Regions from separate parts of the Homo sapiens genome. Here all the other regions are linked to region 4. The links are contacts of gene promoters, found by promoter capture Hi-C in blood cells and fetal thymus (Javierre and others, 2016). All regions are on one chromosome and are shown on one strand. Each heading gives the region's core, a stretch centred on a gene start or on the middle of the fragment in contact. The rest is flanking DNA. Distances are from core to core; before and after follow the strand shown. Region 1 overlaps PTPRO (protein tyrosine phosphatase receptor type O). Region 2 has its middle 110 kb from the start of ATF7IP. Region 3 holds the start of DERA (deoxyribose-phosphate aldolase). Region 4 holds the start of ERP27 (endoplasmic reticulum protein 27). Region 5 overlaps PTPRO (protein tyrosine phosphatase receptor type O). Region 6 overlaps STRAP (serine/threonine kinase receptor associated protein).

Region 1 (4,626 bases), core at 2,025-4,524, 620 kb after region 4:
ATTAAGGTTTTCAGGGAGAAAAGAAGATAACAGTAAGCGACTGACAAAGAGGCAGCCAGTGAAGTATAAGGACAACTAAGGGAGTGTGGTGGCCTGGAAGCTAGGGGAACAATGTGTATGCAGAAGAGATGATAATTGCCCCTATATTAGTGGATACTTAGGAGCATTAACGCAGTAATAACATAGCGTAATACTCAACTCATAGGAAGTGTGCAGTAAATGTTAGCTCATAATAGTAATGGTGGAGGAGGTGGTAATAGATGTAATGCAAGTAGTGGTATTTCTGAGCATTTTTTGTGGTACATACCAAAGATATTTAGGAGAGGTGGTTCTGATTCTTTCAGCTAGTTATTAAAGCATAGATTCTCATCATTTTTCATGCTATGATCCTTTTTGGCAGTCTGGTGAACTCTTCTAAGAATAATGCTTCCATTTTCTGTGCCTAAAATAAAATACATAGGATTATACAACTATATTGAAATATGATAATCATAATATTTAAAAAGCAAATGTGTTGTACACTTTTTAATTAGTATATTCAATGTCAATATGTAATAGTCTAACAATTTCATCATGGTGATGCATATGACCAATATTTCAAGATATCTGCAGCAAGTCTATTATTAAAAAATATGTAATCTCTATTGTTAGCAAATCATCCATGTGGATATTCTGATGGTTTGGTACCTACTTTAATGATAGAAAGGACTGCTAAGTTTAGTCACAGGTTGTGAAAATAAATATGTACCCTTTTCCCACATATGTTCATAGAGTCCTAAATTCTATCTTTGGAACTCCAGATTAAAACCCTTGAGTTACAGGTAAAATAAATCCCATATATAGGAAATTGACATAGGAAAATTCATTAATGATGTGTAAATTATAATACACTATGATATTATATTAGTGTATTTTTCAAAAGAAGAAAATTGTTCTTGGAACACCTTAATAAGAACAGGTAGATAATTCAAGTAATTAGCACATTGTGCCAGTAATGTTAAAATCTCTGCTTCAGTTCTGAGTATTAAATCCATTAATTCCGTATAAAGAAAAAATGAGATACATGAGCCCCAATGAGCTGTTATTCATGCATGAAATTAGCCAAAAGATAGAGAAGGCATGAGAATATGTTTACTTTTTCTCTACTTCTGGAAAAAAAAAAAAAACTTCAACAGTGTTTTTACTAGCAGATTAATAGGCCACATTCCGGACAGTAGGCACACCAGAAGCTTGCCTATTTCAATACATTCCACTCTTTTATTCTAATCTCCAGTGATGAATAATACGGGCATCACAATATAAGAGAAAGATTTTGGAGGAAGTAAACAATCCACTTGATCCACTATCATTGTAGGGAGGAAATCAAAATGCCATAAACAAAACCCTACAAAGAATTTTTGCTAAAGATGGAAAATGCTCAGTTCATCTAGGAGAGTTTCTATGTTACTATTAAAGGCTTTGTAAAAAAATAAATAAATATTATACCCCAAATAGTTCAAATATTTCTTTTAGAATCATGAATGCCCTTTGGAAAGGATTGTGAAGTGAATTCTTTTGGCCTCAAATAATTTGATTTGCAAACTTGCAAAAGATTATTTCTTTTCGTTTTAGCTTTCTGTTTTGCATTGTATGCCAAAAGGGAACATATGGAACTTCTATTAGCTTCTTTTATTTTGTTTTTTTTTTTTTTCTTTTTCTTTTTGAGACAGAGTCTTGCTCTGTCACCCAGGCTGGAGTGCGGTGGCGCGATCTCTGCTCACCACAACCTCTGTCTCCCAGGTTCAAGCAATTATCTTGCCTCAGCCTCCCGAGTAGCTGGGATTACAGGCAAGTGCCACCACGCCTAGCTAATTTTTGTAGTTTTAGTAGAGACAGGGTTTCGCCATGTTGGCGAAACTCCTGACCTCAGGTGATCCGCCCACCTCGGCCTCCCAAAGTACTGGGATTACAGGCGTGAGCCACCGCACCTGGCCTAGCTTCTTCTTTTTTTTAATTTAATGCTGTGATGATAAGCTGGTAAAGACTCTCTTTACTTTTAGGTCAACGTAAGAATGCTTTGTCAAGCAGTAACCTTGATTTTGTGGTTCCTTTAAAACAGGGAGTGTGGAGCTGGTACATTTGTCAATTTTGCATCCTTAGAGAGGGATGGAAAGCTTCCATACAACTGGTGAGTATTGTTTTGGAACAAGCTTCTACATAGTTTAACTATGCTGTGTGTGCTCCAAAGTCGATTTTACTATCCTTTGGGGATAGTTTTGTCTGATTATCCTTTTGTAATTTCGGTGATGGTAGACTTTCAATGGCTAGATCTTCACAGAATATAATGGTTTATATAAGCTCAGTGCAGTTCTGAAGTAGGGAAAGCATCATGGTCTGCTCTGTATTTACAATACTAAACAAGGGACTGAAACAGTGGTGCACACGCAGGAGCCCATACCTGTGCTGAAAAAGGGCTTAAATGCAGGAGCGCCGCTGAACAAGTGGTGGCTAAAGGCACGAGAAGAGATTCCAATGAAGCAGCTTGCGACAGATCGGCTTCTCCATTTTATTTTATATTTTATTTTATTTTATTTTTTATTGTTTTGTATTTTTTGAGGAGACAGAATCTCCCTCTTTCGTCACCCGGGCTGGAGTGCAGGATGATCTCAACTCACTGCAATCTCTGCCTCCTGGGCTCAAGTAATCTTTCCACCTCAGCCTCCCGAGTAGCTGGGACTACAGGCGCGCACCACCAAATCTGGCTAATTTTTAGATATTTGTAGAGATGAGGTCTCACTATATTGCCCAGGCTGGTCTCGAACTCCTGGGCTGAAGTGATCCTCCCACCTCGGCCTCCCAAAGTGCTGGGATTACAGGCCTGAGCCCCCATGCCAACCCAGCATCTCCATTTTAAACTCACATTTCAGTGCCTGAGGCAATAAGAGCCACCACTTCTGTTAAAAAGTTGTACAGCCCAGTATTCAGTTCTCATGCTTACAGATAAATAAATATCAAAGCCAGTGAAGTTTCATAAGAAAACATGGCTTCATTTTTCTTTATGCTTGAGTATTAAGGACCCGGAAGGAGGAAGTGTTCGAATTTTAAAGAGCATTGTCAAGAGATTAAATTGGTTGACATTATACCTGACAATGATAGATGAAGATTAACAATCCTATCCAGTTCAATCAATGCCCAACAAAAGTACTAATTAAGTAAACATTTAACATGAAGCTAACATGTACTACTTACATGGTCTAGTTTGTTTCTTTTGCAAGAAACTATGCAAAGTATATGTAAATGAATATATGTCATATTAATCATTGTTCAGTTATTTCTTTCTGTTTACTAACTCCCTAAAATGGTTAATCTTAAAGAAATACACATGGGAGACTGGAAATTTTACAGAATCAATGAGGGAGGGAGAACTTTATTTAGGATATAAATTTTACTTCCCTCAGTGTAGCTGATACTCACTCTAGTTGAAAATCTAGTTGAAACCAGATTTCTTTTAATAAGGCAATATGTTGTGCCATTTAAAAATTTTAACATGAGTAGAATTTTGCTATTAAAAAACAACCCAACTGTGAAGAAAAAGAAATCCATCAACCCTTGATGGTGAAAAGTTAGGAAACGTTACTAGGTTTGTTCAAATATATTAGCACTCTTTCCAAAATTAAGAGGTTGACTCACTGATACTTGTTTCATGCCTGGTTCACCCTTGGGAGGCCCAATGGGAGATCAGTGATGAGTGGCCCATCTAGGAACCAATCCAATTATATGTATTTAATACTTGTGACTCATGAGAGATAGATATTAACTAACTTCACAGCCAGTCACAATTCATGGAATTTATGGGAGACCAGTCATGGGAGAGCTGAAGCAAAAAAGAATTCACTTCAGGATCTTTCTATAAAATCAAGCACATTTTGCAGCTCTTCACAAAGACAGTTTTGCCGACTCTAGCATTTTCTAGCTGACTGAGAATAGATATCTCAGTGAAGATTTGTAATAACTGAAGTGACAAGGTGACAGTATTTTTCCCCCTAATTCTCAGAATAACTATAGATGCAGTCACAGGATATTTTAAAATCTATATTAATGGGTGTTCTATTTGACAAGTGGTTTGAATATCTGAAACCAGGCATTTAAATCAACAGTCTGAATTAGAATTGAAGTGAAGCTAAACTATTTTGCTCCTACTTAGCTGAATATCAGTGAGGTCACAGACTAAGTAGTTGATGAGCTACTTATCTTGAATGAATGATATCCTTGTATCATCCATACCTCTGTTTTAAGGGTTATATTTATAAATTTTATAGTAATTTAAAAACAATACAGAAAGTCACACCTAGTAGTGCAGCTTTATTAAGAATGTCTCTTAAAAGCTTAGTCTTCACCGGAATCAGTATATGTAAACTGACCATTTTTATTTTCTCACACAAGCTGCTGTTTAGCTGTCAAATGATGTTACAGAGGTTTCTTAAAATAGGCTTAAGCATAGGAAGAATAATATCCAAGAATAAGCTTCAAGATAACTAATGAGGCATATAAGTGCTTCATTTAACTGAATGCAAAATGTAATCACCTGGTAGCAGACTAATTAACACAAAGTAAGTTGAAAGAAATATATCTGATTACAATAAGGTC
Region 2 (5,017 bases), core at 1,056-3,555, 680 kb before region 4:
TTTCAAAAATGGTACAAAAATAACAAGAACAAAACCATACTTAAGGAAGGAAGTAGATGGAACACAATAATATGGAGAACCATTATTCCTTCCCAGATTAGGCAGGAGAGCTAGGATCTAGTCCTATCTGGCCACACAAAACACATGGTTCAAGCTTTCTGGAGTTCCGTTTCCTCATCTGAAAAGGCAGGGGGTTAATTTTGTATTAAGATACTTTGAAGAAGGAATAACCATTTTTCGTGAAAGTTCAAGGGAGGATATAAAAAGAAACTAAGATTTAACAACACTTATCTTGTGCCAGGTAATTAGCACTAGGATTTTTAAAGTAGAGACTCAAGCATCCTGGGTTTGTGTTTGTGTTCTGCCTTCTACTAGCTGTGTGACCTTGGGCAAGTTACCTAACTTCTCTGTGTTTCCTTGTCCCCAGCAGAAAATGGGAACAATGGGCCAGGCACAGGGGCTCACGCCTGTAATCCCAGCACTTTGGGAGGCTGAGGCGAGAGGATCACTTGAGTCCAGGAGTTCAAAACCAGCCTAGGCAACATAGCAAGACTTCCTCTCTACTAAAAATCTAAAAATTAGCCAGAAGCAGTGGTACAAGCCTGCAGTCTGAGCTACTCTGGAGGCTGAGGCAGGAAGATCACTTGAGCCCAGGAGTTCAAGGCCACAGTGAGCTATGACTGCACCACTATACTCCAGCCTGAGCAACAGACAGAGATCCTAACTATAAAAAATAAAAATAAAATGGGAACAATTGTACCTTCTCCAAAGGGTGGCTATGAGGAAAACAGTTTATATATACAATGTGGTTTATACATACTATATATACATATATATCATAACAGTAAACTGGCACAAAGTATTGCTATGTAATTGCTCTTATAATGATTATTACAACTTTATAGAGATATTTTTATAGATGAAAAAACAAAATAGATGAGGAAACCACGGCTTCAGAGCTTTGAGTTTTTCTGACCTCAATATTCGGTCTCTCAACTATTGATTACCCTGAACCAGTTAAAAGAAGTGAAAGTCAGCCGGGCGTGGTGGCTCACGCCTGTAATCCCAGCACTTTGGGAGGCTGAGGTGGGCAGATCACCTGAGGTTAGGAGTTCGAGACTAGCCTGGCCAACATGGAGAAACTGTCTCTACTAAAAACACAAATTAGCCGGGTGTGGTGACGCATGCCTGTAATCCCAGCTACTCGGGAGGCTGAGGCAGGAGAATCTCTTGAACGCCAGAGGCGGAGGTTGTGGTGAGCTGAGATCGTGCCATTGCACTCCAGCCTGGGCAACAGGAGCGAAACTCCATCCCAAAAAAAAAAAAAAAAAAAAAAAGAAGTGAAAGTCACAGAATTTTGTAGTCAGTTAGGGAAATCCTACCAGTTTCACAACGAGTCAATCAAAACCTTGCAATAAATACACAATAAAGCTGTGCTTCAAATGTCCTCCAACACCTAGCACAGCTTTTAGAACAGCTAATTTGCTTAGGTGAAGAAATGCTCCAGGCAGGGCACAGTGGCTCATGCCTGTGATCCCACCTCACTGGGAGGCAGAGGTAGGAGTCACTTGAAGCCAGGAGTTTGAGGGCAGCCAGAGCAACACAGAGAGACCCTGTCTCTGTGAAAAAATAAAAAAATAAATAGGCCAGGCATGGTGGCTCATGCCTGTAATCCCAGCACTTTGGGAGGCCCAGGCGGGTGGATCATTTGAGGTCAGGAGTTCAAGACCAGCCTGGTCAACATGGCGAAAGCCCATCTCTACTAAACATACAAAAATTAGCCAGGCTTGGTGGTAGGCACCTGTAATCCCAGCTACTAGGGAGTCTGAGGCAGGAGAATCGCTTGAACCAGGGAGGTGGAGGTTACAGTGACCAGAGATTGCACCACTGCACTCCAGCCTGGGCAACAAAGTGAGACTCTGTCTCAAAAAAAAAAAGAAAAATAGAAAAAAATAACCAAGTGTGATGGTGCATGCCTATAGTCCCAGCTACTCTGGAGGCTGAGGTGAGAGGATCACTTGAGCCCAGAAGTCAAGGCTGCAGGGAGCCAGGATCAGGCCACTGCACTCTAGCTAGCATCAGTGACAGAGTGAGACCCTGTCTCAAAAAAAAAAAAAGCCCCAAAGACATTACTCTTGTGTTGGGCTGAAATCCAGTGAATTGGTGGCCCCTCTCTCTCTCTCTCATCTGAAGGTTTTCAGAGATGCAAATTGCCTACTTGAAATTCTGTGGCATTAGACTTCTGCTTGGATGAGTCCCTGGCCAGGAGTAGAATCTTTTTTTTTTTTTTTGAGACTGAGTCTTGCTCTGTCACCCAGGCTGGACTGCAGTGGCACGATCCCAGCTTAGTGCAACCTCTGCCTGCCGGGTTCAAGCGATTCTCCTGTATCCCCTCCCTAGTAGCTCAGATTACAGGCACCCACCACCATGCCCAGCTAATTTTTATATTTTTAGTAGAGACGGGGTTTTGCCATGTTGGCCAGGCTGGTCTCAAACTCCTGACCTCAAGCGATCCACCCACCTCAGCCTCCCAAAGTGCTGGGATTACAGGCGTGAGCCACCTCGCCCAGCTAGGATCCATTTTTTTTTTTTTTTTTTTTTTGGGACAGAGTCTCGCTCTGTCACCCAGGCTGGAGTGTGGAGTGCAGTGGCGCGATCTCGGCTCACCGCAACCTCCACCTCTTGGGTTCAAGCAATTCTCCTGCGTCAGCCTCCTAGTAGCTGGGACTACAGGTGCATGCCACCACACCCAGCTAAGTTTTTGTATTTTTAGTAGAGGTGAGGTTTCACTGTGTTAGCCAGGATGGTCTCAATCTCCTGACCTCATGATCGGCCCACCTTGGCCTCTCAAAGTGCTGGGATTACAGGCGTGAGCCACCATGCCCGTTGTGTGTGTGTGTGTGTGTGTGTGTGTGACACGAAGTTTCAATCTTGTTGCCCAGGCTGGAGTGCAATGGCATGATCTCAGCTCACTGCAACCTCTACCTCCCGGGTTCAAGCAATTCTCCTGTCTCAGCCTCCCGAGTAGCTGAGATTACAGGCGCCCGTCACCACCCCTGGCTAATTTTTGTATTTTTAGTAGAGATGAGGGTTTCTCCATGTTGGCCAGGCTGGTCTCGAACTCCTGACCTTCGGGTGATCCACCCACCTCGGCCTCCCAAAGTGCTGGAATTACAGGCATGATCCACCAGGCCTGGCCGCCAGGATACTCTTTTAAAGGAGGAATTGGTAAATCCTTTCCCTCTGGTGATAGGGACAGTTTTGATAAAGATGGAAGGGGGAAAACCATGTGCATGACTCCAGACTCAGAAACCAAAACCCAAGTTGAATTCCATCTCAGAGTAAAATCAAGTACTACAGATGAGAAAACACAGACGGTAAGAATTATAAGACTAGTGTGTCTTTTCTTAGGGGATAAAAGCTGTTTGACAGCATCTGCAACAAGTGGTTCACAAACACGTCCATCATCTACTTCCTCAACAAGAAGGAGCTGTTGGAGGAGAAGATCACACACAGCCCCTGACCATCTGCTTCCCTGAGTACACAGGGTCCAACAAGTATGATGAGGCAGCCAGCTACAACCAGAGTAAGTCTGAGGACCTGAATAAGCACAAAGACACCAAGGAGATCTACACACACTTCACATGCGCCACCGATACCAAGAACGTAGTTCGTGTTTGATGCCATCACCGACGTCATCATCAAGAACAACCTGAAGGACTGGGGCCTCTTCTGAGGGGCAGTGGGACCTAGCAGGATGGGCCACCACCAACTCTGTACCCCCCAACCCCTGAGGAAGATGGGGCAAGAAGACCATGGTCCCCACCTGTTCCCTGGACACTTTTCTCTTCTTTCCTTTGTTCTTAGCTCCCCCATCCCCTCAGCTTCAGACATAGGGGAGGGGTTGCCACAGGCCTCCCTGTTTGAAGCCTGCCCTTGTCTGAGGTGCCAGTAATGGCCATGGTACCCCCTTTCTGGGCATCTTTCTGGTACCCCCCAGAAGCTGTGAAGATTCTATTCTACTCAGTAGCTCTCATTATGTAAAGAGGAACCCTGAAATAAATCAGTTGTTCCTGAAAGTTCACAAGAGTAAGAAAACAGACTGAATCGTAAAAGAACTAACTGGTATAAAAGAAGAAGCCAGAAAGTAGTGGACTGGGACCAGAGAAATAATATTTGAATTTAATTAATCTGTTCAACAAATATTTGCTCCTTGCTAACATTTTGCCAGGTCCTATGCTTGTTATACAGTTTTGATCAGACAGACACGGCCCAAGGGTACTTAGAAAGCTAGTTGCGGGTGAAGGGGGAGAGCCAATGTACAAGAAAACAAATATATATAATTGTAAGTTACAGTGGTGCTACAACAGAAAAAAAGAGGTTGCCATGTAAGATGATAAGAAGGTATAAGGAATTTACTTTGGACCAAGCATTCAGGAAGGCCTCTGAGGAAGGCAAAGCTTGACCAGAGGGTAGGAGGAACTCAGAGGACAGTGAAAGGAGAGAGGAATAAGGGGTGGGGGGGGAGGGTGGAGATTTCAAGGTGGAGTGAAAAATGCAAAGATCCTAAAATAAAAGCATCTCTAAGAATCAGAGGGCCAGTTTGGATGGCTTGACCTCTACCCTTCTTGAATCCCCTTTGATACTGAACATTTTGGAAAATCCCGTGTAGCATATACTGTGTGCCTTCCCACAATAACTGATGACTCTTAAATCTCACAAAAACAAATTCAACTGATGAATTCACGTCCTTTTAACATACATTTTGAAGATTATCTTAGCCCAAACCGGCACCCACATCCTTCTGAGCGTACTGACTCACTAGACAAAGCCAACCCCTCCCCTCCTGTGTACAAAAATAGCTTTTCCATATCTACTGTTGTAATTGTTTTTTTTCCAGGGCTTTATGCTCTACTGAAACTAAACACTTAAATGAGCAATTTCACTCTGGTTTTAAGCCCAGGGGAAATGACAACGGTTTTGTCTCTGTTTTGAGACTTAGGGGCAAATTTTAAAT
Region 3 (5,162 bases), core at 1,931-4,430, 970 kb after region 4:
GTCTCAGAATGAAGGAGTGTTCTTTAAATTGAATAAATTTAGCTTCATAAAACACTCAGTATAATTCTTATTTTTTTTTTATTTTACCATGAACTAGGAATTGGATGTTCTATTAGTCTCCCTCCAGTTCTAAAATATTTTGACTCTAATATTCACAATTTTTCATAGTCCTCCCTGCTCCTACACTTTTCTCCATCTGACCTAGAAATGCTGGCTGACAGTTTGTAGTCTAAGTGGTTATTTACCTAATGAACTTGTGAATAATTGCTCTTAGAAATCATAGGAGTAGAGACTATATCAAATGAAATTTGACTGGATAAAACAGTAGGCAGTATAAGAAAAGTAGCAAAGACAGCAATATACACTCATTCATCTAACAAATATTTATAGTCTACTAATTGCCAACTACTGTACTAGATCCTACATATGATGAACCAAACACAAATGATCTATGCCCTTTGGACCTTAAAATTTGTTTTACTCCTATCTCCCAGGACTGGTAGGTTCTTAGAAGCTTCAAGATAAATATTACATATTCCTAGAGCTTTAATTTTAATTAAAGGAGGAGTGAGGGTGGGAGGATAATTAGGTAATTTATTTGGCAGTTTAAAATTTACATTGAAAAACATCAATGAATAGGAATAGCATGCAAAATTTACATGGCTTAAAAAATACAACATGTAATACTTTAAAAGCAATTTTACTCTTGTAAGAGTCAGTTTGGGCTATGGCTCCAGATTGGCATGCATAGTTTATTTTCCTCTGCTTCTCATTGGTGGTTCTTTACGTTTAGTTTGCATAAACATTGTTTGAAGAAATATTAAAATTACAGATTCCAGGGTCCTAGATACTCTGATTGAGTAGGGCTGTGAGGAAGCCCAGAACTGCTTTAGAAAAAGCTCTTGGGTGATTCCCATGTAGTGGTCTATAGCTCTTTCTTTGAGGGGACTTGCCTTAGGGATACTTCAGAAGTTTCATAAGGCAATAAATGTAAAAGGAATCTTCACAAAATGAAATATAGGAACATTTCTCTGTGAAAGAAACTCATTTTTTGCATACTATCCCTGCTGTCTCTCCTAATGTTGCCAAATTAACATACTTTTAAACTGCAGAGATTAATTTGAGATTAATACATTCAACAGGTCCATTTTAGAAAAAGTCCTTGAGAAATTCTTGACTGATACATTGCTAAAACATTGCTTTAAGAGGCTGCCCTAATTCTGATTTTTCAACTAATTTAGGATATCACAATTTAAAAACAAACAAACAAACATTTATGTAATGAATGGTATGGAATCTGGTTTGGAGTTGTGTTTACTTCTAAAAATAGAATTTCATGTATTGCCTTTGTATCTTCTAGAGATGTGAATGATCTCCAGCCAGAGACCACCAGTAACACACCTACAAGTGGACAAAGTTGTGTTTATTGACATTGTAACAAGGGAGAATGCTTGCCATGGGCACCTAATGTGAGGTGTCTCAGTAAGAGGATGTTAGAAACTACATAGGATTTGGGCCTGTCGTAGGTGATTTGGGGAAAGTTCAAGGAAGGATCTGGACTGGATGATGGTAGGAACTGGTGATAGTAGTGCATCTTAATTCTTATCTAAAACATAGGAATGGAGTGAAGCTAGAACTGATTGGTAAAGAAGTCATAATAGCTAGGATAGGGGCTATTTGAACAATATTCATGGTTTTCTATTATCAGACATGATTATGATTATGTTTTTGTTGATTCATTGTGGTCACAATGGCCTTGGCTGATGCTGTGCTGTGAAATTGTATACGTTTAACCAGGGAAAACCATGGTCCAGTTGTGAGTTTCAGGCCAGCTCCAGGCTTTCAGGGCCTGCTTTTCTCTTTTTCAAGGTTAATATAAAAAAGAAAAGTGCTATAGTATGTATGAGTAAGATCTACACACATCCGAAACATTCAACAGTGGCTGTGTGTGGACAAGGCTGAAAGCTCAATGTAGAGGAGTATACAAATATTACTATTCCTATTTAAAACAGCTCAGTAATTACTGTGTGAACTTGACAATAACATTAACAGCTTCCATTTTTTAAGTATCTACTGTATGCCATGTTATGTACTAGGTGCCTTGCATACATTCAACAGCTTTGCAAGGTGAACATATTTTGATCATCTCCACTTTACAGGTAAGTAGACAGACTATTATTTCCAGAACTGCCAAGTTACATTTATTAAATGGAAGAGCTGGTATATTAATGGGTTCAGCTCATTTTGAGCTCACTGTATTTCCCCTATACCAGGATGCCTTTCTATTCAGAACTTTGATGTCTAAAGTTACAGCAATGGAGATAAAATACATTATTGGCAGGATTGTTCAGAGACTCAAATGCTATCATACATCTATATATGATGTATGAAAGCACCTAGCACAATAACTGGCTCATGGTAGACAAATCATAACTAACTGTACTGTTTTCATAGCAGAGGTGCCTCTAAACGTGAGTACAGATAAGTTAACTATATTGAGATTGTGGAGTGACTCGACGATTTTAACCTCTTGGTCACAGAGAAATCAGGCTGAAGCATTTTACCTTTATAGAATCATAGTATTTTGAAGAACCAAGAAATTGTCAAGGTCTTCTTTTACAGATGAGAAAAATGAAGCTCGGAAAAGCAGTTAATTTGCCCAGGGTCACACATTTAATTATTGCCCGAGCTTGGCTAAGAAACCAGGTCTTCTGACTCCTAAGCCCTTGCCTTCTTCAGGCCACATAGCTGCTTCTTTTCATGATGTGTAGATTAGAAAAGTCAGTGTGCCCCGGGGCCCTTGATTGCACCTTGGTTTCCCTAACAAGGATATGGGATCCCTGCTGACATTTCAGACCTTAAGTTGCAGAGCTCTGCACTTGGATCTTCTTCCTTCTTGTTATATAATCTTACAGTTAAAAGTTTCTAGGAATATTTTTATTACGTGCAATTGGCAACTTCAGTATTTTTTAAAGGGTGTTGGTAGCATTATTTCCGGGAGCTACTTAGCGCTCCGGTTCGGTACCTCGTGGAGAAGACGGGGGAGGGGAGCAGCGAGATTTCCTTGCGGAGCAATATTCCTAGGGTACAGACCTCGTAGCCCGGGCCCGCGACTCCGCCCCGGGAGCGGGCAGGGGCGGGGCGAGCGCTCCAGCTGGCGGGAAGGAGGAAGGGCCGGGCGCGGCGCAGAGGCGGGCGCCTACCAGCCGGCAGCTCCGGAGCTGCCCGCGCCATGTCCGCGCACAATCGGGGCACCGAGCTCGGTAAGGGGCCCGCGGGGCTCCCCATCCCCTCTCCCTCGCGTTCAGCGCCGCCGGGACTAGCGCGGGGCCTGCTGCCGCCCAGTGCCCTGGCTGTGGGTCCCCGAGGGGTTTTCGCTGGGGCGGGAAGCAGTGGCGTCTGGTCAGCCCTCACCCCAAGTAAAGGCCGAACCCGGCACGTTCGCGCCGCTTGTCTTTGCACCTAAGCTTTTACTCTTGTATGCGGAAGGAGTAGGAAAGGGTTAGATTATTATCTTCCTGCCTTTTCGTTCACTCTAGCTCGCTGGTTGGAAAACCCAACAACCCAAAAAACAAAACCCAAAACAAACAACCCCCAAGCAGGTAAAAACAGATAAAAACCTTCTTTCTCCTCCTTTTAATAGAATACTTGTGTAATTTAATGCAGTATTTCCGTAGATAATTTTAACCGTAACCTTGAAGTGGCCGTGCTCGTGGAAAAGTTGTCAGCCGTCTGTGCTCAAAATGTAACACTGCAGATTCATGGGATTTTAGAGTTACAAAGATTTGTTAAAGTACCTGTATTATTTCCCAGTTTTCATCTTTTTTTATATTGTTCAAATACTGGCAAGAAACCTTAGTTCAGATTTCTTTTTTTTTTTTTTTTATTGATCATTCTTGGGTGTTTCTCGCAGAGGGGGATTTGGCAGGGTCATAGGACAGTAGTGGAGGGAAGGTCAGCTGATAAACAAGTGAACAAAGGTCTCTGGTTTTCCTAGGCAGAGGACCCTGCGGCCTTCCGCAGTGTTTGTGTCCCTGGGTACTTAAGATTAGGGAGTGGTGATGACTCTTAACGAGCATGCTGCCTTCAAGCATCTGTTTAACAAAGCACATCTTGCACCGCCCTTAATCCATTTAACCCTGAGTGGACACAGCACATGTTTCAGAGAGCACAGGGTTGGGGATAAGGTCACAGATCAACAGGATCCCAAGGCAGAAGAGAATTTTTCTTCAGATTTCTTAACATGTGAAAAATTTATAATTCAAACAGCAAAACCATGATCAAGAGAAGGTTTAAGCGTCTCGTTTAAGTATTATAGCTTGGATATCTGTGTATCCAGGATCTTTAACTTCTTACCTGTGTGACTTCGGACAAATTAATAACTTTGCGCTTAAGTTTCTTCATCTGTAAAATGGTTATTTTAGTGGTAGTTACCTTATAAGGCCGTTAGGAGATTAAATAGGATACATGTAAAGTAGTTTGGTATATTGTGGACACCTAGTAAGTCTTCAGTATAGATAGTATTAGTATATGGAGTTATGGTTTTAGGGGCTAATTTTGAGAAAATTGGCTGTAAATTATATGTAACACATACAGGTAGGTCCTTTTCGCCCTCCTTAAAAGTGACTGGTACTTAAACAGTCTGCACTTCCAAGAGGTGTTCTGGATTTTTTGTCGAATGGTAAGAGAGTAAATCTATCATTTTAAAGACAGTTGATTTACTAACCTGGTTGATTTTGTTTTAGTCACTGTCCTCTAGCTGATTATGTTTTAAACTCTAGTCCTATCTCTGGAACGTGGTCTTTAGTAATAACGGCATTATTTCTTAGATTGGAATATCCTTGAAGGTGGTGGATATGGGGCAGGTTTGGGGTGGTGTCTTACCTGGGTATTCCCAGGAATATGACCATGTGACTATGCATACATCAAGGATGTGCCCTAAATTTCCCAAAACTTAGACATTTTAAATTTTTCTTTCAAAAAACATAATTGAACCATTTTTAAATTTATTTATTTGCAGTAATTAGAATCAATCACTTCCATTCATTTGTTGAAAAGTAATAGACATAAATAATTGCCAGGTAGAACAATAGTAAATGTGGTTTTTATGCAGCTATCGAAATGATCATAGCTTTGTATTTATTATCTTATTTGTTAAAATC
Region 4 (4,999 bases), core at 1,494-3,993:
TTTGGGTCACTGCAACCTCTGCCTCACGGATACTTGTGCCACAGCCTCCTGAGTAGCTGGGACTACAGGTGTTCACCACCATACTTGGCTAATTTTTTCTGTATTTTTAGTAGAGATGTGGTTTTGCCATGTTGCCCAGGCCAGCCTTGAACTCCTGAGCTCAGGCAATCCACCTCCCTCAGGCTCCCAAAGTGCTAGAATTACAGGTGTGAGTCACTGTGCCCGGCCAAGATGTACTTTAGGATGCTAGTCCGCTGTCTTCTTGGTTTACTGGATCTTCAAATAAACTGGCTTTTCCTCCCACCGGCTCTTCCTCTTGAGTTTTGGCTTTGGTTACATTTGTGGATGAAAGGAAAAAATGCAAAAATATGAAATAGACGCCATCAAAAGGGCCAAAAAAGAAAAAAAGAAGAAAAATAAAACAATTAAAATGAAAGCTTAGAAGTTTTAACAAAAGTTTATGCAGGTTATGGAAGGACAGTCCCTCTCTTGCCACTGTAGATAAACCTGAGCTTTGCACATGAAGATGCTGTTCACGCATTCAACTCTGCAGCCCAGGCCTGCAGGAGGCAGCAGAGAAGCCACTTGCGAACAGTGATTCCAGGCCTTCCATAGACGCTGGCATCATTTTCCCTGCTCTCACGGGACCTTTATCCATAGCAGCTCCAGGAAATTAACAGGAACAAACATGTTCTACCCTGCAAGTCCCCAGGCTGAAGGAGGAGATGTGCAAGGAGAAAAGAAGATGGCCAGTTGATATGGTTTGGCTGTGTCCTTACCTAAAATCTCATCTTTAAATGTAATCCCCATAATCCCCACATGTCAAGGGTGGGACCAGGTGGCAGTAATGGGATCATGGGGGCAGTTTCCCCCATGCTGTTCTCGTGATAGTGCATGAGTCACAAGATCTGATGGTTTTTTAAGCGTCTGGCATTCCCCTGCTTGTGCTCATTCTCTCTCCTGCCATCCTGTGAAGAGGTTCCTTCTGCCATGATTGTAAATTTCCTCAGGCCTTCCAAGCTATGCTGAACTGTGATTCAATTAAAACTCTTTCCTTTATAAATTATCCAGTTTTGGGTATGTCTTTATTGGCAGCATGAGAAGAAACTAACATACCCGTCTTGCATCTGGGGTCAAGCAGAGGGAGCTGGTATCTACTCTTCTAGAGGCCATGAACAATAATTAATTGAGGCCTCCTCTCTTATTCTGCTCCTTCAGATGGAATTGCTGGAGGATAAAATGATGGCATCTGGCGGCTGTTTAAGTTATTGCACACTCCTCCAATTCCATGCTCTTGCCCCTTCCCCATCTTTCTGACGGTGTTTTTGTCTACAGCTCAGATTTCTCATTCCTGAAAAATGTTGTCCCTGTCTTTCTCCCTGACTTGCATCTCATTGCAGTGATTTCCAACTGTGTACGCAGAACTGACAGGGTAATCAGGAGTTGTAACTGAGAAATGGAAACAGACAAGAAGGTCTGCTATGAGAGAGTAGGGGCTTGATCAGCTGTGAGGATTTCCAGATGCTACCACCAGAGAAAGATGAAAATGCTGGAATGAGGCAGTCTCATTTATGGCTGCCTTTCTTAGTCAAGAAGCTAATCTGGAAGATGGAGGTTAACACCTTGAATATACAAAATGCCATCATTTTCCAACATTTCAGACAAGGCAAAGAGAAAGAAGGAGAGTCTACCATATTTGGGGGAAAGGCTTTAAAAGGCTGTGCACTGACTAATGTCCAGGATGTTTGGCATCCTGTAAACAGTGTTGCTGGATGATATAAATTGGGTTCACTCTGGCCCCTGCCTATTCATAGGGTGCTATGAGAGTATAGACCAAATGTGTTTAGGACAATGGTGGGGTTCCATGAAGGCATTCTTTCTGCAGATACTGACTTGAGCTTCAAAGCATCCATAGATGAGGAGATGCAGCCCACAGGCTCAGAACTCTTGAAGTAAGTATGAGAAAGATATAATTTAGAGACTGGGAATGTCTTGAAAATAAGAGGTCCCAATGGACAAGATGAAATCAAACTGGGTGGCTGTCTCCCTTTACCCCCACTTCTAATGCAGTGCCATCTGCCAGCAGCAGGTGGCTGCTGTGGTTCCCTTAAGGTAGAACATTTCTGGCTCTTGGGGGAATTGCAAGTAGGGAACTAACCTGGAAGAAGCCTATGACAGCCACCTCAGTGGCAGCAATGAATTCCATGGCAGCTGGGACATCTGTGAGCCACGTGGGTTCCTGGGCAGCACCAGGACCATCTAGAGAGAGAAGCAGAAGATGTCAGGGTACTGAGGCAAGAAGAAGCAGCTCTAAATAATGAGGGCATCTATACCTTTTATCTCTATACTAAGGGCAAGAAGAGCACAATTTATAGGAGTACTGTTGGCATTCCAAGGCATAATATTTTTACTAACATATGGAAGGTGACCCTACTGATGGTCTGTCTCTGAAGGATACTGCCAGACTTCCCTACTCTCTACCAGGCAAAATGCACTTATCCAGGATTTCCTGGAAAGCTTTCTAGGTGTGGAGGAAAAGTACCCAGAGAACCACCATGCTCCCTTTCCTTCTCCTAATAACACTTTCACACTATAGCCACCCAACTACATTTTTCTTTTACCTGAGGATTTCTCAACTTCTGCAGCAACTTCTGCAGCCAGCTCACACGTGAGGAGAAATAAGAGGAACATGAACCTGGACGGGGCAGCTTCCATTGTCCCTCTCCTGCTCCTGCTCCAACCCTGGACTTTGTGTTGGGGAGGCCGACTCAGGGCAGCCTACTCTGTAGCTGATTGGCTGTGGGGTTGTTAGGGCTTTGGGAACTTTGCAGCTGGCTCCAGGGGAGCCTTCAACTTCTGAGATAAAAGACCAAGGTTAGTAATAGGGACTCAGAACATATCCAACCAGAAGAAAGTCAGGTCAGTTTATTTAAATAAAAAATGTAAATATGCTATGCCAGGCATTGATCCTAGCGCTAAGAATAGAAAGATAATTATGATCTGATCCAGCCTCTGCCAGCTTAGATTATCAGTGGGAGAGATGGGCAAGTAAAAAGATTATTTAAATATAAGATGGAAAGTGATATAGAAAAATTCATAGGGTGCTATGACAATACATATTAAGGGTATTAGGGACAATGCTAGGGTTCAATGAAAGTGTTCTTCCTGCGGAGGATGCCGGAGCAGAGTTCTGGGTAAGTAAGATTTTGCCAGGCAACACAAGGTAGAAAGGGAGTTTCATGTAAAGAACTAAAGCACAGGCCGGGCGTGGTGGCTCATACCTGTAATCCCAGAACTTTGGGAGGCTGAGGCAGGTGGATCACGAGGTCAGGAGATTGAGACCATCCTGGCTAACATGGTGAAACCCCATCTCTACTAAAAATACAAAAAATTAGCCAGGTGTGGTGGCGGGCGCCTGTAGTCCCAGCTACTCGGGAGGCTGAGGCAGGAGGATGGCCTGAACCCGGGAGGCAGAGCTTGCAGTGAGCCGAAATAGCACCACTGCACTCCAGCCTGGGCGACAGAGCGAGACTCCGTCTCAAAAAAAAAAAAAAAAAAAAAAAAGAACCAAAGCACAGATATGCAAATATAATGTGTGACAGAATTACTAGTAATTGAGAATGATGAAAAGGAAGGAAGTGATACATGTGGACAGAAAGGCATGTTGGGACCAGCTCACAGCAGGCTTTATATGATACACTAAGCGCGGGAGCATCAATTTTATTCTGTAGGTGATGGGAACCACTGAAAAGTCTTAAGCAGAAGAATGAGATGAAGTTTGATTTTGCTCACAAGTGTCTGAGGAAGTCCAAGATGAGATTTCCACAGGCATTGGGATATGTAGTTTTAAGCTTAGGAGAATTTTCATGTGAAAATATTACAAAAGAAATTAGGAAGCCCTAGCCAGGGCAATTAGGCAAGAGGAAGACATAAAAGGCATCTAAACAGGAAAAGAAAAAGTCAAACTATTTCTCCTTGTTGACAATATGATTGTATGCCTAGAAAGCTCTGAAGACTCTGCCAAAAGGCTACTGGAACTGATGAATGATTTCAGTAAGGTATCAGGAAAAAAATAAGTGTACAAAAATTAGTGGCATTTCTATACAGCAATAATGTCCAGGCTGAGAGTAAAATCAAGAACACAATTTCATTTACAATAGCTACAAATAAAATGAAATGCCTAGGAATACAGATAACCAAGGAGGTAAAATATCTCTACAAGGAGAAATACAAAACACTTTTGAAAGAAATCAGAGGTGACACAAATGAAAAAACACTCCATGCTCATGGGTAGGAAGAATCAGTATCTTCAAAATGGCCATACTGCCCAAAGAAATTAACAGATTCAGTGCTATTCCTATCTAACTACCAACGTCATTCTTCACAGAATTAGAAAAGAAACTATTCTAAAATTTATATGGAACCAAAAAAGAGTCTGACTAGCTAAAGCAATCCTAATCAAAAAGAACAAAAACAGAGGCGTCACATTACCCAACTTCAAACTATACTACAAGGCTACAGTAACCAAAATAGCATGGTACTGGTACAAAAGCAAACACATAGACCAATGGAACAGAATAGAGAACCCAGAAATAAAGTCATATACCTACAACCATCTGATCTTCGACAAAGTTAACAAAACCAATCAATGGGGAAAGGATTCCCTACTCAATAAATGGTGCTGTGATAGCTGGCTAGCCATATGCAGAAGAATGAAACTGCACCCTCATCTTTCACCATATAAAAAGTTAACTCAAGATGAATTAAAGATTTAAGACCTCAAACCATAAAAGTCCTAGAAGAAAACCTAGGAAATACTCTTTTTGACATTAATCTTGACAAGTAATTTTTGGCTAAGTCCTCAAAAGCAATTGCAACAAAAACAAAAATTGACAAGTGGGACCTAATTAAAGAGGTTCTTCAGAGCAAAAGGAACTATTGATAGACAATCTACAAAATGGGAGAAAGCATATGCAAACTATGCATCCAACAAAGGTCT
Region 5 (4,940 bases), core at 2,156-4,655, 600 kb after region 4:
TTAACTAATATATATTAAGAACCTTCTAAGTACTACTCAGATGCCAGAGTACTTGTGGTAGTCGTGATGGTAATGAACCCAGAGCGCTACTTTCACTTTCTGTTCACAAGGAGCTTATGATCTAGTGAAGGGGAAGATGGTAATAGTGCTGTACAGTGCTCTACAACAGGGAAATGTGGTGCAGAATGACTGTGTGGTCAAAGCTTTCTTTGAGGAAGCCATGGAGGCTATGGTCTGAATAACAAGAAGAACCAGCCACAAAAAGGCCAAGAAGGAGGATGCCAGACAGAGGGAACAGGCAGGCCTGAGTATAGATCTTTTAAGGCATGCAGTTGGAATATTATCTTCAGAGTAATGAAGGGCCATTTAGAGAACTTAAAATAAACAGTCCGATTTACATTTAAAACAATCCCTCTGGTTGCTTAATGAGAAAGGGATTATTGTATCAACAATGAAAGTAGGGGAACTAATTAAGGGGCTATTTGTGCCAGCTTTAAAAATTATATTCTAATTCAAAGAAGTTGCAAGAGAGTGATGGTAACTTTGACTACGGTGGTTGTAATGGAGATGAAGAGAAGTGGACAGAATTCAGGAGCTCTTTTGGAGGTTGTGTCCACAGAACTTTCTGATACGGCAGAAACACGAAGTGAGGGAAAGGGAAATTAATGACTCCCAGGCTTCACCCTTGAGCAACTAGGACAAATGGTGGCGCAATTCACTGAGATTGAGATGACTAGTAAAACTACAGGAGGAGGACATTTAGGGTGAAGTAAGAATCAAGGATTCTTCTTTGGATGTAAACAAATTTAAAATGATTATTGGATATCCCGGTGCAGATGTGAAGGCCAGGGGAGAATTCTGGGCTGGAAATATAAATTTGGAAGTGTCTGGATGAAATCACCAAGTAGTAAGTAAAGACAGGGAAGAAAAGAGAAGCCCTGGATCAACTCTAGAGGAGCCACCCCAGCAGTTAGAAATTCAGCTTAGCAGGAAGCATCAGAAAGAGAGAGTGGAAAGGAACAGCTAAGGAGGTCAGAGAAAACAAAACAAAACAAAACAAAAACAGAATTGCACACCACCATCATCAAACTTATGCTTTATCCTGACCACAGACATGTTCGGGCACGTTCGAGATAAGGAATCATATAACTTTAGTGCTAGGAGAGCTTTTGGAGATAATTCAGTGCTATGTCCTCATTTGAACAAGCTGGCGCTTAGAGAAATGTGACACGCTTTATACATTGCTAGGTCTTGGTCCAGAAACAGTCATTTCGTACTTTTTATCCATCTGCTGCTTCTATTCCTGGACTGGGGTGTGGCCTTTTTCCTTCAAACTTCATTTTTTCTATTAAAAAATTTAACAGAACAGGGAGGAGCCTCATACCCACTTTTGTGACTTTCCGTTCCTCTTTGGAATTTGGTCTTAGGGACATTGGCTTGATTTTCTTAATCTTACTCATACAAACCTTTATAGAGATTAGAAATCTTTAAAACATAATTTGGCTATGGACAAGAAAAAAATCAAAATACTTTGAAATGTTAAGTATTTGGGGGATAGTAGGCTTTTTCTCTCTGTCTCTCTCAAATATGGTTATAGATACATAGAAATCTGTAGGCTGCCAGTCAGCTAGAAAGAAGCTAATAAAATGCTTAAGGTCTTATACTTTTTTAAAAAATTATTCATCCTGTGAATCAGAGAATATTTACTTAGCATTTACTATATGCCACACACTATTCTTGGTTCTGAGCATACAGAAATGAACAAAACTGACAAAAATGTCAACCCTCATTCTAATGGAGAAAAGGAGATGATAAACATAAATATAAGAATGTTAAATGGTGATAAGTGTCATGGAGAAAAGTGAAAGAGGAAAAGAGGATAGGAAGTGCTGTGGGGGATGGGTGCAATTTTTGTGAGGAGTAGAGTAAGTGTCACTGTGAAGGTGATGTTTGAGTCAGAGCCTAAAGGAGATGAGGGAGTAAACCAAAGAGATCACTGGGATGAGATTCTGTAGGCAGAAGGAACCACAGGTGCCCAGCTATGGAAGCATAGTGTTCCTGGCAAGTTCAAGGAAAAGTCAGGCAGGCAGTGTGGCTGCAATGGAACAAACAAGGTAGAGAGCCATAGATACAGGGCAGAGAGGTAGCAAGGGAACAGACCGTGTAGGGTCATTGAAAAGACACTTTCCTGTGAGTGAGATGATTCTCCATTGCATGCTTTAAGCAGAGGCGCATAACCTAACGGGTTTCACTGGGTCACTCTGGTGATAATAGATTGTTCAGGGCAAGGATAAGAGCAGGAAGGAGCCAATTAGGTAATATGACCATACATCCCTGTTGCCTTAGACAATACCACTTTGCAACTCTTATGGATTATTTAAAAGGCAGTAATCCTCTTTAGGATTTGGGGCAAGGCTTTTCTGCCCCAAAAGTGTTCCCGTGTGGACATTTTTGATAAATTACATGGTCACCTTAAAGTTTAGAGAACACTGAGTCTGTCCAGATAAGAGATTATACTTGTTTAGGTCAGACTGGGAGCCACAGAGGCGATGAAAAGTGGTCAGATTCAAAATTTATTTTGAAGGTGTTGCTGAGAAAATCTGCTGATGGACTTAGATGTTGTCTATGAATGAGTAAAAGCAGCCTAGAGACACAGCAAGATTTGCGGCCTGAGCAATTGGAAAGACAGAGGTTTGATTTATTAACTTGGAAAAGATTATGGGACAGGCTGGTTTGGGGCAATGTCAGAAGTTCAGGTCTGGGTGGGTCAACATTTTGAAGGTTCCTATGAAACCATTAAATAAATACTGAGCAGGCAGTTAGATAAAGGAGCTTGGATTCAGTGAAGACTTCAGGACTAAAAATATAAATTTGAGTGTAGGCAGGCGACAGATGTGATGAGTTAACAAAGACTCAATAAAGAAAAAATAATGCTATCCAGGAACTAAGCCCTGGGCCACTCCAACTTTAAGACATGGAGATGGTGAGTAAAAACCAGCAAAAGAGACTGAGGAGCATTGGCCAGGGAAGCAAGAAAGAGCACAGAAAAGTGTCCTGTCCCAGGAGCCAAGGGAAGAGAAAGCCTCAGCGAGTGGAGATTGTCCAGGTCAAACCTGTGAACAAATCTGGTAAGATGAGGAATGAGAATTGACCACTGATCTTAGCAGCCCAGAAGTCACTGGTGATTTTGAGAAGAGGCATTTGGGTGCCATGGTGACGGGAAAAAAAAATCTAAAATGCACAGGAGCTAAAGAATAGAAGAATCCAAGAATTTTTGGTAGTTTTTTGTTTTTATTTTGTTTTCTTTAAGTGAGTGAAAACAGCTTGTCTGTAGACTAAGCAAAATGATCCAACAAAACAGAGAAAACTGTTGATGCAGCATAGTTAGAGGTGAGACTTGGTGTGATGTCCTTGACTGGAGCAGAGGAGATGGAACCCGGGGATCCAGTGGAAGGATTGGGTCTGGATATATCTTCAGGAAGACAATGACAGACAAACAGACAGTATGGGCATTAATGGGATAGTGAGCAGAGTGAAGATCATGATAGCCGCTTGTGGATGGTTTCTTCTGATTGACTTCTTGTAAGATAAACACATGCATGTTCTTTAGGTTTGCAGGGGGCAATACCTGCCATGCTACTCTTCTGATATATACCTCCATGGCCAGCAGCCCCATGCAAGCATTGTTTTCTGATTTAGGTTCTCAGTGACAGCCATGCCACAGTCCCATGGCTCTGTACCTGGGCCTGACACTAACCAATCCCTCGCCTCAATATACCCCTCCTCACTGCAGTCTTCTGAGTGTCACCATGGTTTGTCAACTGCCCAGAGGCATACCAAACCACTTTAGTGCTTCTTTTTTTTTTTGAGACAGAGTCTTACTCTGTCATCCAGGCTGGAGTGCAGTCTCTGCTCACTGCAACCTCTGCCTCCCAGGTTCAAGCGATTCTCCTGCCTCAGCCTCCCAAGTAGCTGGGATTACAGGTGCGCACCACCACGCCTGGCTAATTTTTGTATTTTTAGTAGAGATGGGGTTTCACCATTTTGGTCAGGCTGGTCCCGAACTCCTGACCTCTTGATCTGCCCGCAAGTGCCTCCCATAGTGCTGGGATTACAGGCGTGAGCCACCGCGCCCGGCCCACTTTAGCACTTCTCTAAAGGCATTTCTCCTGCCCATCATAAGGTACTGCATATTCTGCAGGTACATGATTCTCTCCAATGTATTGGAAGAATCTGAAGGAGGGACACATAGGGCAATGACTGTGAAGTCTGGCATTGACCTAAATACACAAGCAAGTGCCCACTCTGGAAAAGTTGGTCTTCTAAGCAAAGGAATTTTTCTGGAGGCCTGGTCATCCCCACTTATATGCAACTGACTGGGTAACTCGCTGATTGGGAGGAAAACAGGTGTAATAAGGACCCTTGATTAGGAGTCCAGAGGTGTGGATCCCAGTTCTTGCCCTCACAAACAAATTGTGTTACCATAGCAAAGTAACTCAGACCCTCTGAATTCCAGCTTCCTATCTATAAAATGAGTCTGGGCTAGATGATCTTTTATGCTCCTTCAACTTTTAGAATTTCATTCCATACCTGAGTTCAGAATAAAAGCAGCAAGATTAATGATGCAATGAAAGTGCTGATCTTATTCTAAGAATTTTGCAATATATGACTCCTAACAAAATAAAAATGCTAAGTAAAAGCACATGCTCCTGGAACCACTGAAAAGGAGGTATTCAGATATTTGTTTTGAAACTAAGTGAAGAGAATCAGAAGGGTGAGGGGGTGGGAAGTGGGTGGATGATGAGAAATTATTTAGTAGGTACAATGTATGTTATGTGGGTAATGAATACCCTGAAAGACCTGATTTCACCACTATGCAATCTATGCATGTAACGAAATTACACTAGTATCCCATAAACATATGCAAATTTTTAAAAATT
Region 6 (4,766 bases), core at 2,202-4,701, 950 kb after region 4:
GTTTCGCCATGTTGGCCAGGCCGGTCTCGAACTCCTGACCTCAAGTGATCTGCCCGCCTTGGCCTCCCAAAGTGCTGGGATTACAGGTGTGAGCCACCGTGCCTGGCCTTTTTTTTTTTTTTTTTTAACAACCTCACACTAAGGAGCAATTGTAAATCTGCTGCCTCCTTCATTTTAAGTACATTAAACATACCAATTTTAGAATGAAAAAATGAAGGCTGATTGACTGTGGTGGCAGATACGTGACTGTATGCTCTTGTTTATTGAAACAGTGTTGTTTTTATGCTTTCTTAACATTTCAAGTCTCAATGTCTGTGTTTACAAGTGGTGTATTAAGAGCATGAAGGCTGGAGCCAGATGACCTGAATTTGAATTGGTGGCCTCATGCACTTTATTTAACCATTTTTTTTTCTGTCATGGTACCTAATTCATAGGTTGGTTTTGAATATTAAATAAGTTAATATGTTTCGAATACTTACAACATTGCCTGAAGTCTATTACACCTATGAAAGTGTTACATATGTAAAGTAACGATGATAGCTACCATGTAAACTATCACCACCCGCACTTGATCAAAATCACATATTATTTTGAAACTAATATGGCTAAAGCCTTCAAACTATTTGGCCTCATATAAGGAAGATTGAATAGATTTAAATGTCAAGAAGGAAGATTTTTGTGATTTTTTTTTCCCCCTCCTCAGTTAAGGCTTTAGGTGCTGTGTTAGAGTGGAAAATAATAACAAGCATTGGCACTAGGTGGGCTTGCATTCGTGTGCTAACTATGCTGTGTATTTCCAGTTTGATCATCATAGGATTTTTTTTTTTTTTTGAAACAGGGTCTTAGGTGCCTAGGCTAGAGTGCAGTGGCGTGATCATAGCTCACTGCAGCCTCTATCTCCCAGTCTCAAGCAGTTCTCCAACCTCAGCCTCCTGAATAGTGACCACAGGCGTGTACTACCATGCTTGGCTAATCTTTGTGTTTTTTGTAGAGATGGGCTTCACCATGTTGTCCAGGTTGGTCTTGAACTCTTGGGCTCAAGCGATCTGCCCACCATGGCAGGATGTTTCTTAAATGTCGGCTTTCATATCTGTAAAATGGGACTAAGACCCATGAGATTATTGGAGGAACAGAGAGATCTTTCTCCACCATATATCCCTGAAGTCCAATATGATCTCTGTCACATAGTAGGTGCTCAATAAATGCTAGTTGAGATTTATCCCTCATTTCCTCTATGTCTTGTCTGTGGGGTGTAGGAGCGTGTTTTCATGTGCGTGTTTGTGTGTGTGTGTATTCTCTCCAAGAAGTTACTCCCCACAGCCTACCTGATTAGTCATGGTTGGTATAAAGCATTTTTAGAAACAATTTTTTTTTCCCTCCATTCTTACGTTTCTTGGAAAACTCATTTATGGTGTGGTCATTTAGAAGTGGAATTTGGTCCCGTTTCTTGTGGAGAAATTTAGCAGAATAGGTCTGTGGACTAGTGTAGAATGTTATCTTGGAGTAATTCGGGCAATTGAGTCCAGTGTTGAGTACAGTGTCCCTAAAACACCATCTCTTTGTATCTATTTGGGAAGAGTGCCAAAGTAAAGACAATTCTGTGCTGTGCTCCCAAGAGGGCTTAAGTAGATCTGGGATTGGGTCCAGGAATTTATAGGTAATCACAATGTATCACTCTTTCTTTCTTGTAAAGCCAATAGAAATATCTAATTTTAGTTTTAATAAGGTTCTTGATAAATCGAAAATGGTATTATCTCCTAGATGACTTGGTCAACATGTTAAGGTATTTGGGCAATTTTTTAAAAATCTTAAACTGGCCTGTTTTGTTGAAGGTTTAAATAAGTAAGTTAAGCAGCTCCTATTATGAGACTTACGGTAAGTTCATTCTGAGGATATGGAAAGTATCAGGCAGCATTATTATTTGCAAGAAACTGGGGTATAAGAGGTAACAGTAGTTTAAGGAGATGACAAGTACTTCGTGGGATGTGAAGAAAATGTTGGAGGGTTAGCTGCTGAAAGGGTATTGTTAATAGCGCTTTACTGTCTTGATTTGAGCCCTGTGGCCAACTAATATATGTCAATTTCTTGCCTGGAGATTGAATAATACATTAGGAAACATTTAGATTAGATCCATTTTAGGGCTCTTACTGTGAATAATGGAAATCTGCCAGAGTTAGTACATGCCCTGTCAGAAAATGTCATGCCTCTATTTTAGTACTGTTTCTAAATAGGAGGAAAAACTACAGACACATTACCTCTCTGGTTAATATTACTACTTTGGTCACTCCAACTCTCTTCTCACCTTTGAATAGACACAGTCTAAGCAGAATCTTAAGATTTTAGAGCTGCCATGTTGGCGTTAGCCTGTAGCTACTTAGGAGGCTGAGGTGGAAGGATCTTGAGGCCAGGAGTTCAAGTATAGCTTGGGCAATATACCAAGATCCTGTCTCAAAAAAAAAAAGAGAGAGAGGTTTTAAGTTTATGGGAGATTATTTAATAAACTTGAAATTAGCATATCAAAGGACATTGCCCGGGTTTCTTTGGAGACTTGTGAATAATTAGAATAGTAATTTTAGATACATTTGTTGTTTTCTTCACTTTTGATGCTTTCTGTCATTCTAATACTTGTGAACCCTTACCACAACCATGAAATGCATTTCACTGTGATTAAGGATATATGTAAACAAAAAACAAAGCAAATTTAAGCACCGTAATAAGTGGAGTTCTGTGGGAGAACAGAAAGGAATGGTTAATTATTGGAGTTGAGGATAAATAGTTTCAAAGAAAAGATAGCATTTGAAATGAGCCCTAAGGGTGAGTAGAACTTTAATAGCTAAGAATGTAAAATACAGACTTAAGAGAATAATATAAACAAGAACATAGGAGCCTGGAAGAAAATACGTAAGTTATTTGAGGAGTGGTTTATAATCTAGTGTTGCTAGATTCAGAGAAACAATACAAAATGAGGTTGGGAAAGTAGATTGGGGCCAGAGAGTTGCATTGGAATGACAGAGAGAGGAGCAAGTTTCCTGGGCAAAGAGAAATGAATACTAGGGAGTTTAGCAGCAAGGCTACTTATAGTTGACATTATTTCTTTCAGAACATATTTATTCAGCCACTCACATGACCCACATTATTAAATATTGCAAGCTTTGGTAGTGTATCATGAGCATTCCTGTTAGATGGTCTTTCATATTCATTAACCACATTGCACATGCTATTAATGCTTATCTAGAATAGCCTTCCCTTCTTTTTCCCCTGATATATTTCTCTTTGCTTCTTCCGACGGCTAGCTCTGTTACTTACATTTTCTGGACAATATCTAGGTGCTTTTTTCTGAGTTTTTATAGCCATATATATGTCTTTTAATTATATTTCTTAAATGTGATATTTAATGCATGTTTTTCTCCTCAGCTAAAGCTCTACTATGGCAAGAACCTACTGTGGGGTATTTTTTGTCTCCCATTTGTGCCTTAGCACTAAGTATAGAATGATATATATTTAATATATTTTATTATGTATTGGGGTAAGCAAAAGAAAAGATACATCTTGCTTTTCTCTGATTTTTTTCCCTCTACCATTTTATTGCCCACTGTGTTCCTGAAAATAAATAGCAGTTGCATTAAAATGGAAATCTCTATGGAACATAGCTTTTTCACTCTTAGCAATTCTTTTCCCTGTCTGCAAAGTTTTCTTGTTTATTTTTCACTGACCTGTTCTGATCTAAAATCAACTTTTTTTTCCCCCTTCCTTAAGCTTTTTTATTTGGGGGAACCCTTTTAGAGTAATTTTGTAAAGTATTGCTCAACTATTACCCGCCCAGAATATACATACACATATAAATGTATGTATACCTATAACCAACTTGTATTTTGGGGTGGGGTGGGACAGAAAAAACAATGTAAAGATTAAAATAGTCAGTGTTAGCATTATATAATCAAAGGCTGATAGTTTGGGGGAAGTTAACTGTACTAGAGTTTGAAATTTTAAGTCAGCTTTGAAGAAGAGATGAAGTGGACATTGTCTCTCCACTATCTTAATTTAAAATTTTACTTAGCCTGTACCAAGGCTTTTCATTCCCTTGTAACATTTTTAAGGATTTCTGGTTTTTTTATTTATTTTTATTTTTTATTGTGCATCTGAGTGGAGAATAGAGAAAAAATTGGCATGGTGAAACTAAAAATTGGTTAAAATGTATGACAGGCTTGCTAAAGGGATATTATGGCTGTCAGCTAAAATAAAAGTAAGGAGGATGGGTTGGTTCATGAATCTTACTTGCTTAAATTGTTCATATCTTTTCCACTGTCAAAGAAAATTAGATTGGTTATAAAGTTTTTACAGAGAAATTTCTTTTCCCTTAAGCTTATTTAAATATTTTATCAAATGAAGTCTGTGAGGGATATTAGAGATAAAGGAGATTTATAATACATTTATGTAACATTTCACATATCTAACTTATTTGGTACTCATCAATATTATAATTGTATTTATCCTTTTAATATATTGGGTAATATTTATCCTACTAATTTTCTCTTTTTTACTTTTAGCAAAGTGTGGGATGCTGTCTCAGGAGATGAATTGATGACCCTGGCTCATAAACACATTGTCAAGACTGTGGATTTCACGCAGGTATCAGAAAATGGAATTTATTTTAGCGAGTTAAGTTGCTGGTACATAGTGTGATAATGCTTTTATACTTGATTGGTGTGTATATTTGATTGATATGTTTTGTGTGGAATATTTGTTATTTCTTGGTTCATATTTGA

The links. The method cuts DNA at HindIII sites, captures the fragments that hold promoters and counts their contacts. A CHiCAGO score of 5 or more calls a contact.
Region 1: a contact is called between a fragment that was not itself captured here and the fragment with the promoter of ERP27 in region 4, in 2 of 17 cell types (non-activated CD4 T cells and activated CD4 T cells). The highest score is 5.9, in non-activated CD4 T cells.
Region 2: a contact is called between a fragment that was not itself captured here and the fragment with the promoter of ERP27 in region 4, in 6 of 17 cell types (activated CD4 T cells, naive CD8 T cells, total CD8 T cells and 3 more). The highest score is 8.6, in activated CD4 T cells.
Region 3: the fragment with the promoter of DERA here is called in contact with the fragment with the promoter of ERP27 in region 4 in 5 of 17 cell types (total CD8 T cells, activated CD4 T cells, fetal thymus and 2 more); the score reaches 8.2 in total CD8 T cells.
Region 5: a fragment that was not itself captured here is called in contact with the fragment with the promoter of ERP27 in region 4 in 5 of 17 cell types (non-activated CD4 T cells, total CD4 T cells, naive CD4 T cells and 2 more); the score reaches 10.1 in non-activated CD4 T cells.
Region 6: a contact is called between a fragment that was not itself captured here and the fragment with the promoter of ERP27 in region 4, in 5 of 17 cell types (naive CD8 T cells, total CD8 T cells, non-activated CD4 T cells and 2 more). The highest score is 9.1, in naive CD8 T cells.

The regions. Positions count from the first base shown.
Region 1 is chr12:15,555,357-15,559,982 of GRCh38, forward strand. It overlaps PTPRO (protein tyrosine phosphatase receptor type O), which reads left to right. Exons shown (of 27, transcript NM_030667.3): 16 at 2,099-2,167. LOC105369672 (a long non-coding RNA gene) reads right to left here and starts at 555. Exons shown (of 3, transcript XR_002957403.2): 1 at 308-555. The HindIII fragment of the contact is 2,175 bases long and covers 2,188-4,362 here.
Region 2 is chr12:14,251,496-14,256,512 of GRCh38, forward strand. It overlaps the pseudogene GNAI2P1. Among named protein-coding and RNA genes, the nearest start is that of ATF7IP, 110 kb to the right of the region's middle. The HindIII fragment of the contact is 4,306 bases long and covers 153-4,458 here.
Region 3 is chr12:15,908,152-15,913,313 of GRCh38, forward strand. It overlaps DERA (deoxyribose-phosphate aldolase), which reads left to right and starts at 3,181. Exons shown (of 9, transcript NM_015954.4): 1 at 3,181-3,263. The coding sequence starts at 3,233. RefSeq lists enhancers at 2,871-3,615, 3,616-4,359 and silencers at 3,039-3,098, 3,119-3,468. The HindIII fragment of the contact is 2,953 bases long and covers 513-3,465 here.
Region 4 is chr12:14,935,794-14,940,792 of GRCh38, forward strand. ERP27 (endoplasmic reticulum protein 27) reads right to left here and starts at 2,744. Exons shown (of 7, transcript NM_152321.4): 1 at 2,622-2,744; 2 at 2,159-2,259. The coding sequence starts at 2,715. RefSeq lists an enhancer at 2,200-2,259. The HindIII fragment of the contact is 1,334 bases long and covers 2,516-3,849 here.
Region 5 is chr12:15,534,384-15,539,323 of GRCh38, forward strand. The region is part of intron 12 of PTPRO (protein tyrosine phosphatase receptor type O); the gene reads left to right. Among named protein-coding and RNA genes, the nearest start is that of PTPRO, 210 kb to the left of the region's middle. RefSeq lists enhancers at 75-164, 580-1,779. The HindIII fragment of the contact is 6,409 bases long and covers 202-4,940 here.
Region 6 is chr12:15,885,381-15,890,146 of GRCh38, forward strand. STRAP (serine/threonine kinase receptor associated protein) reads left to right here. Exons shown (of 10, transcript NM_007178.4): 3 at 4,548-4,629. Among named protein-coding and RNA genes, the nearest start is that of STRAP, 5.4 kb to the left of the region's middle. The HindIII fragment of the contact is 606 bases long and covers 3,149-3,754 here.